Linked DNA regions of Homo sapiens: region 1 is linked to region 2. The links are contacts of gene promoters, found by promoter capture Hi-C in blood cells and fetal thymus (Javierre and others, 2016). All regions are on one chromosome and are shown on one strand. Each heading gives the region's core, a stretch centred on a gene start or on the middle of the fragment in contact. The rest is flanking DNA. Distances are from core to core; before and after follow the strand shown.

Region 1 (3,160 bases), core at 413-2,912, 72 kb after region 2:
AGTGAAATACTATACAGACAGTAAGAACAGTAAAGAGTAAGAAAGCTCCTTATATGTAGGTACAGGAAGATCTCCAAGATGATTTCATTGTTGGTGTAACCAGTGAGGTGCTGAATGGTACATATGGTATTGCTACCATTTGTGTAAAGAAAAAAGAGGGATACTGCAATAGTCCTGTCCAGTTAAAAAAAAAAAAAAGGAAAAGAAAAAAGGGGGAGGGAAATCATGCTCTCTTGTTCTCGTGCTCTCTCTCTCTCTCAGTGTGTGTGTGTGTGTGTGTGTGTGTGTGTGTCAGTGTGTACATATATATATGTGGAATTTCTCTGCAAGAAACCTGCAATATCTGTTGCCTTCCCCTAAGGGGATGGAGGGCTGGGCACCTGCACAACTGATGTGTATACAAAGGCTGAGCAACTGTTATATGTAGAATATATTTACTATATTCTATGTTCCCTTCTGTAACTTTTGAATTTTGTACCATATAAAATTATTCTGTTTAAAGTTAAACAAAACAATGCTATGGAAAAAAAGGGTTTACCACTATAGATATTGCAACATTTTAAATCAATCTAGTTTTTAGGGACCTTAAACAGAGATCTGTGGCTTGCAGCCTTATATCCTTAGACCTTATAGAGTACACAAAAATATACCATTAATAACTTTCAAAACTTCATAAAGAACATTGAAATTCTTTAATCACAATAAGCCATCCAGATCAATTATCACATTAGTGTGTTAGCTGTTGGCTGCAATTTTATACAGAAACTTGGTACAGCAACATTGGTGTCTCTTGCTGATCAGAAAATCCAATGGATTGTTACCATTATCATAGGAATTTATTAAGTGGCACTTTCCAGAGTGTTCCACAGAATACCAGCTCTTTAAGAGATCAACAAGTCTTGTTTGAAAAAATAGTTACAGCCAGGTGTGGTGGCTCACATTTGTAATCCCAGCCACCTTGGAAGGCCAAAGTGGGAGGATTGCTTGAGGCCAGGTGTTCAAGACCAGCCTGGGCAACTCAGCAAGACCCTGTCTCTACAAAAAAAAAAAAAAAAAAAGAAAGAAAAAAAGAAAAAAGAAAAGAAAGAAAAAAAATGGTTCCATAGTTAAAGTGAGTTGTGGAACATTTAATAAAGTATCCCTACTCCAGGATTTTCAAGGTCTAAAGACATTAATGTGAACTGGGCATCTCTAAGTTAGAGGACAGCAGACAGCCCTCTCCAAACTTGCTTAACCATAAACCCTTATCTTAATGAGCATATCAACAGACGGGTGTTCTTCTGAGCCCTTTCTGAGAAATAAATTTTCTGGAAATGTAAATGGTATGCCGGCCAAATGGCAATAGAACCTACCATAAACCTATCCAGCTATATACATAAATGCTTAATAAAAAGTGGGAAGAACGTGCCGGGCACGGTGGCTCACGCCTGTAATCCTAGCACTTTGGGAGGCTGAGGCAGGTGGATCACGAGGTCAGGAGATCGAGACCATCCTGGCTAACATGGCGAAACCCCGTCTCTACTAAAAATACAAAAAAAAATGTAGCCGGGTGTGGTGGCGGGCGCCTGTAGTCCCAGCTACTCGGGAGGCTGAGGCAAGAGAATAGCGTGAACCCGGGAGGCGGAGCTTGCAGTGAGCCGAGATCGCTCCACTGCACTCCAGCCTGGGCTACGGAGCGAGACTCCATCCCCCACTCCAAAAAAAAAAAAAAAAAAAAGGTTGGGGGGAAGGACTATTTACACCACAAAGGGTTTATCTGATGGTAAAAATTTTCAAACTACATTGTTACATGAGTAAATGAGGGAGTCCTCGGTACTAAGCTGATTAGACTCTGAAGTCTAAGAGAACAATTACATGCTATAAGGGCGCCATACCGACTATGATATGAAGTGCGTGGGCCCAGAGAGAGAGAGAGAGCTACGAGGGGAAAGCCTTCTTGGGGATCAGAGAGGCAGCTGCCTAGAGATGGGATGAGAATCTGATATGTCACTAATACCAGGTCTATACGCATCTAGGCAGTACACAAAAACGCATGTCAATATCATGCCACCAGGATCTGGATTTTTATGTCAAAATGCAAAAGCACTCCTCAGACAGACAGCACAGAAACACTTAAGGACTTTGAGATGATTTCTAAGATCCCGTGCATAAATCTGGGGAAAGTGGAAGAAGGCCTTTAGTATGAATTGATTATTTTGCCACTAGGGATAACTCTTTTCTAAAGCAGAGGAATGCTTCAGGCAGCTCAGCCACAATCTAGGCTACGGGGAGACAGCAAAAAAACTACAAAGGAAAATTTTTTTTTTAAGTGGTAAAAAGAACGACTGATTTGGACCACATTTACCTGTCAAACTGCCCATTCAGGGAATTCTAAAACCAGGAAGAGCACCTAAGTGAAACCAATGTTACATTTATTGACAGGCTTGCTGCTAGTCAAACTCGGGGTGAAAGGCAACAATAATACAGAGAGTAGAGAAATGCAAGTATAGAAGAATGGACCCCAGCTTTAACTTGGAAGGGCAAATATTTTGGCCTACACTCAAAGGAAAGTGGGAAATACTTCTAAAATACATACCAATACCGTAGCCACGTTATTTGGAAAAGCCTTTGCCAGGATAGAAGAAGATGCAGTCATTGCTGCAGCAAAGCTAACTGCATCCATTACTCTCACTAGAAAACACATAGCAATAAATACTGGCCCATCTGGAACTCGGTCCAATACACTAAAAAGGAATAAGACAATTCTGAAATGCCAAGCTGGTTTTCTTTTTTTTTTTTTCCTTTTTAACTGTACTCACTAAAAAGAATAGTACCTCACTCATGGTTTTTAGAATAAACCGCTTTAGAATATGATTTTTTTAAAAGAGTTGCTTTGTTGTCTTTTCAGGAGGAGGAAATTACCCTTTTTCTTTTTTTGGTAACCATTTGAGTCATAATGACAGCTTAGTCGCCCTTTTCTGCTGATATAACTGGTCCCCCAGATAATAGCACTAAATAAACTTTTTTGGAATATGTAGAATCAGCTGGGCGCAGTGGCTCACGCCTGTAATCCCAGCACTTTGGGAGGCTGAGGCAGGCAAATCACGAAGTCAGGAGATCGAGACCATCCTGGCCAACACGGTGAAACCCCGTCTCTACTAAAAATACAAAAAATTAGCCA
Region 2 (2,829 bases), core at 301-2,800:
TAACTATAAACCTAGCTTATCCTGGAACCAAGCCTCTCCTTGAACTTTCGCTGATGACTGTGCCTGTGTCAAGACTGATTAATAACTTAAATATTCTGTTTATTTCCTCCTCTGCCCTAGCTTTCCCCTGCAAACATGATTCCTGCTTCTCAGAAAAAGAGGAGCCACAAACTGGTTACTTGAACTGTCCCATGCCTACAAGTACTGCCTGAGCTAACCTGGGCACCTTCCAATTAGAGAGTCACCTTAAAAAGCTCTGTGACCTTCAAGGAAATAGTTGGACTAAGGATGAAAAAGAACATCAGAACTCCTGATAACCTTTTAAATATTAGTATATATAAGAATATAGGGCAGTCACGGTAGCTCATGCCTGTAATCCCAGCACTTTGGGAGCCCAAGGCAGGTGGATCACCTGAGGTCAGGAGTTCAAGTACAGCGTGGGCAACATGGCAAAATCCCATCTCTACAAAAAATACAAAACTTAGCTGGGCACGGTGGCATGCATCTGTGGTCCCAGCTACTCTGGAGACTGTAGTGGGAGAATCACCTGAGCCCGGGAAGTCAAGGCTGCAGTGAGACGTGATCACACCACTATACTCCATCCTGGGTGACAGAGTGAGACCTTAACTCAACAACACAAAAGAATATATATTTATAGATATATGTAATACACATTTATCCATGACTTTTATCACACTTCATGTATTCCTGGTCTACACCTAATCGATCAATAGCTTTTAAAATAATATTTGTGTAAACCACAATTTATACTGTATGATTAACTTCAAACTGAAACCTTCACTAAACTTAAGGACTCACAATGCATTACATATACTTTTATCTTGTAATTAGAATGAAGTGTGAAGTATATAATGCATGCTGGCAAGGAATTGAAAACTTAAATTTGTTTTCAGATTATAAATTTATTCGAAAACCTGCAAAGCCTTAATAGCACATGAGTACATGAAGGCCACTAATACTCTGAAAATAGCACCTAGTCCCTGACCCATTTATCCTCCATCCTCCATCTGTACCAGAAAAGGGGAACAAAGATGTTGAATTTATGGCCAGTTCCTCAAAGGTCTGCTGCTTCTTGATAATGAGCAAATTGTTCTTTTCTTAACTTTGTTCTTACTTTTAGGGAAGTCCTTGCTCTAATTTTGAGAGGAAAGTAGAATTCTAACTGTAAAATAAAGGTTCTTGGCTACTCTGATACATATATCATCTAAAAGTGTAACTGACCCTGACAGTGGCCCTGTCTCCTAGGACCCCCTCCTTTCTCATAGAATCCAGTACACTGGAGAGATGGTAGAGATGGTACCTGATCTGCTGCTGATGTGATCGCTCCTTCCAAAATGTCCAGATTCCGATTCATTAATGCCAAAGCCTCCTCACGAGACACTGGTGTTAGGGTGGCATTGGGCAATATCGCTGCATGCTCATAAACAGCTGCAGTGAAAGTGTCCTGGCAGCTGGCTCTTGAGACATAGAAAAGCAAAATTGCCACGTAAGCTGGCAACTGAGTAGTCATGCTGAAGTCCAATGAGTGCTGAAAAACAGAGCATGTCCTGGTATTTATAGAAAGAAGACACGTGGTGTCCAGAACTTAGTACCTTAAACTACGGAAGTTAATTAAGAAAACGCTATGATTTCATAGCATTGTTACATAACAAAAGACCCTACCTTATTGCAGTAATTTGTGAAGATTAACTCAAGAACTCTATGTACATTAGTTCGCTAGGGCTGCCTAACAAAATACAATAAACTGGGTGGTGTAAAAAATAAAAAATTTATTGCTTTGCAGTTCTGGAGGGTGGGAGTCCCAGATGAAGGTGTCAGCAGAGTTGGTTCCTCCTGAGGGCGGTGAAGGAAAGATGTGTTCCAGGCCTCTCTCCTTGACCCATAGATGGCTGCCTTCTCCCTGTGTCTCTTCATATGCTATTCTCCCCATGTGTGTGCCTGTATCCAAGTTTTCCCTTTTTGTGAGGACACCACTCTAATCTTTAACACAGGGAAAGGGAAAATCCCAGCTCTAGCTTTTTTTGTCATCGTTGTTGTTTGTTTATTGTTGTTGTTGTTTGAGATGGAGTTTCACTCTTGTCACCCAGGCTAGAGTGCAGTGGCGAAATCTCGGCTCACTGCAACCTCCGCCTCTCGGGTTCATGTGATTCTCCTGCCTCAGCCTCCCAAGTAGCTGGGATTACAGGCGCCCGCCACCACGCCAGGCTAATTTTTTGTATTTTTAGTAGAGATAGGGTTTCGCCGTGTTGGGCAGGCTGGTCTCAAATTGCTGACCTCAGGTGATCCACCTGCTTTGTTTTTATGCCAAATAAGGGCAGAAGAAAAAAGCCAACTGAAGGTCATAAACCCAGGGGTACAGGCTCACTGAAAGACTGAGACTCAATCATAGGACCAATTCGATTTAGTGCCCACTGTACTCCAGTATAACTTCATCTTAACTAATTAGATCTGAAATGACCCCTTTTCCAAAAAAGTTACATTCTAAGATACTGACAGTTAGGACTTCAACATATAAATTTTTGGAATTCATATATTTTGGAATGTCAACACAAGACATTCAAATAATTTTAAAACTTTATTATTATTTTCATGTGAATATTTCAGCTCTACACTTTGATTTACTTTATTTTCCTCAAAATGGGGAAGCCAGGACAAAGAGGAATACAAAAGAGTTACTCATTTTCTATTGCTATATAACAAATTATCCCCAAATTCAGCAGCTTCAAAAAGCAAAAATACATCATCTCCCACTTTCTCTGGGTCAGGAATCCAGGGGCAGTTTAGCTGGTGCCTCTGGCCCAAGGTCTC

What was found. The method cuts DNA at HindIII sites, captures the fragments that hold promoters and counts their contacts. A CHiCAGO score of 5 or more calls a contact.
Region 1: a fragment that was not itself captured here is called in contact with the fragment with the promoter of VNN1 in region 2 in 1 of 17 cell types (neutrophils); the score reaches 6.9 in neutrophils.

The regions. Positions count from the first base shown.
Region 1 is chr6:132,784,859-132,788,018 of GRCh38, forward strand. SLC18B1 (solute carrier family 18 member B1) reads right to left here. Exons shown (of 14, transcript NM_052831.3): 5 at 2,576-2,723. Among named protein-coding and RNA genes, the nearest start is that of SLC18B1, 12 kb to the right of the region's middle. The HindIII fragment of the contact is 3,512 bases long and covers 1-3,160 here.
Region 2 is chr6:132,712,505-132,715,333 of GRCh38, forward strand. VNN1 (vanin 1) reads right to left here and starts at 1,551. Exons shown (of 7, transcript NM_004666.3): 1 at 1,322-1,551. The coding sequence starts at 1,531. The HindIII fragment of the contact is 10,237 bases long and covers 1-2,829 here.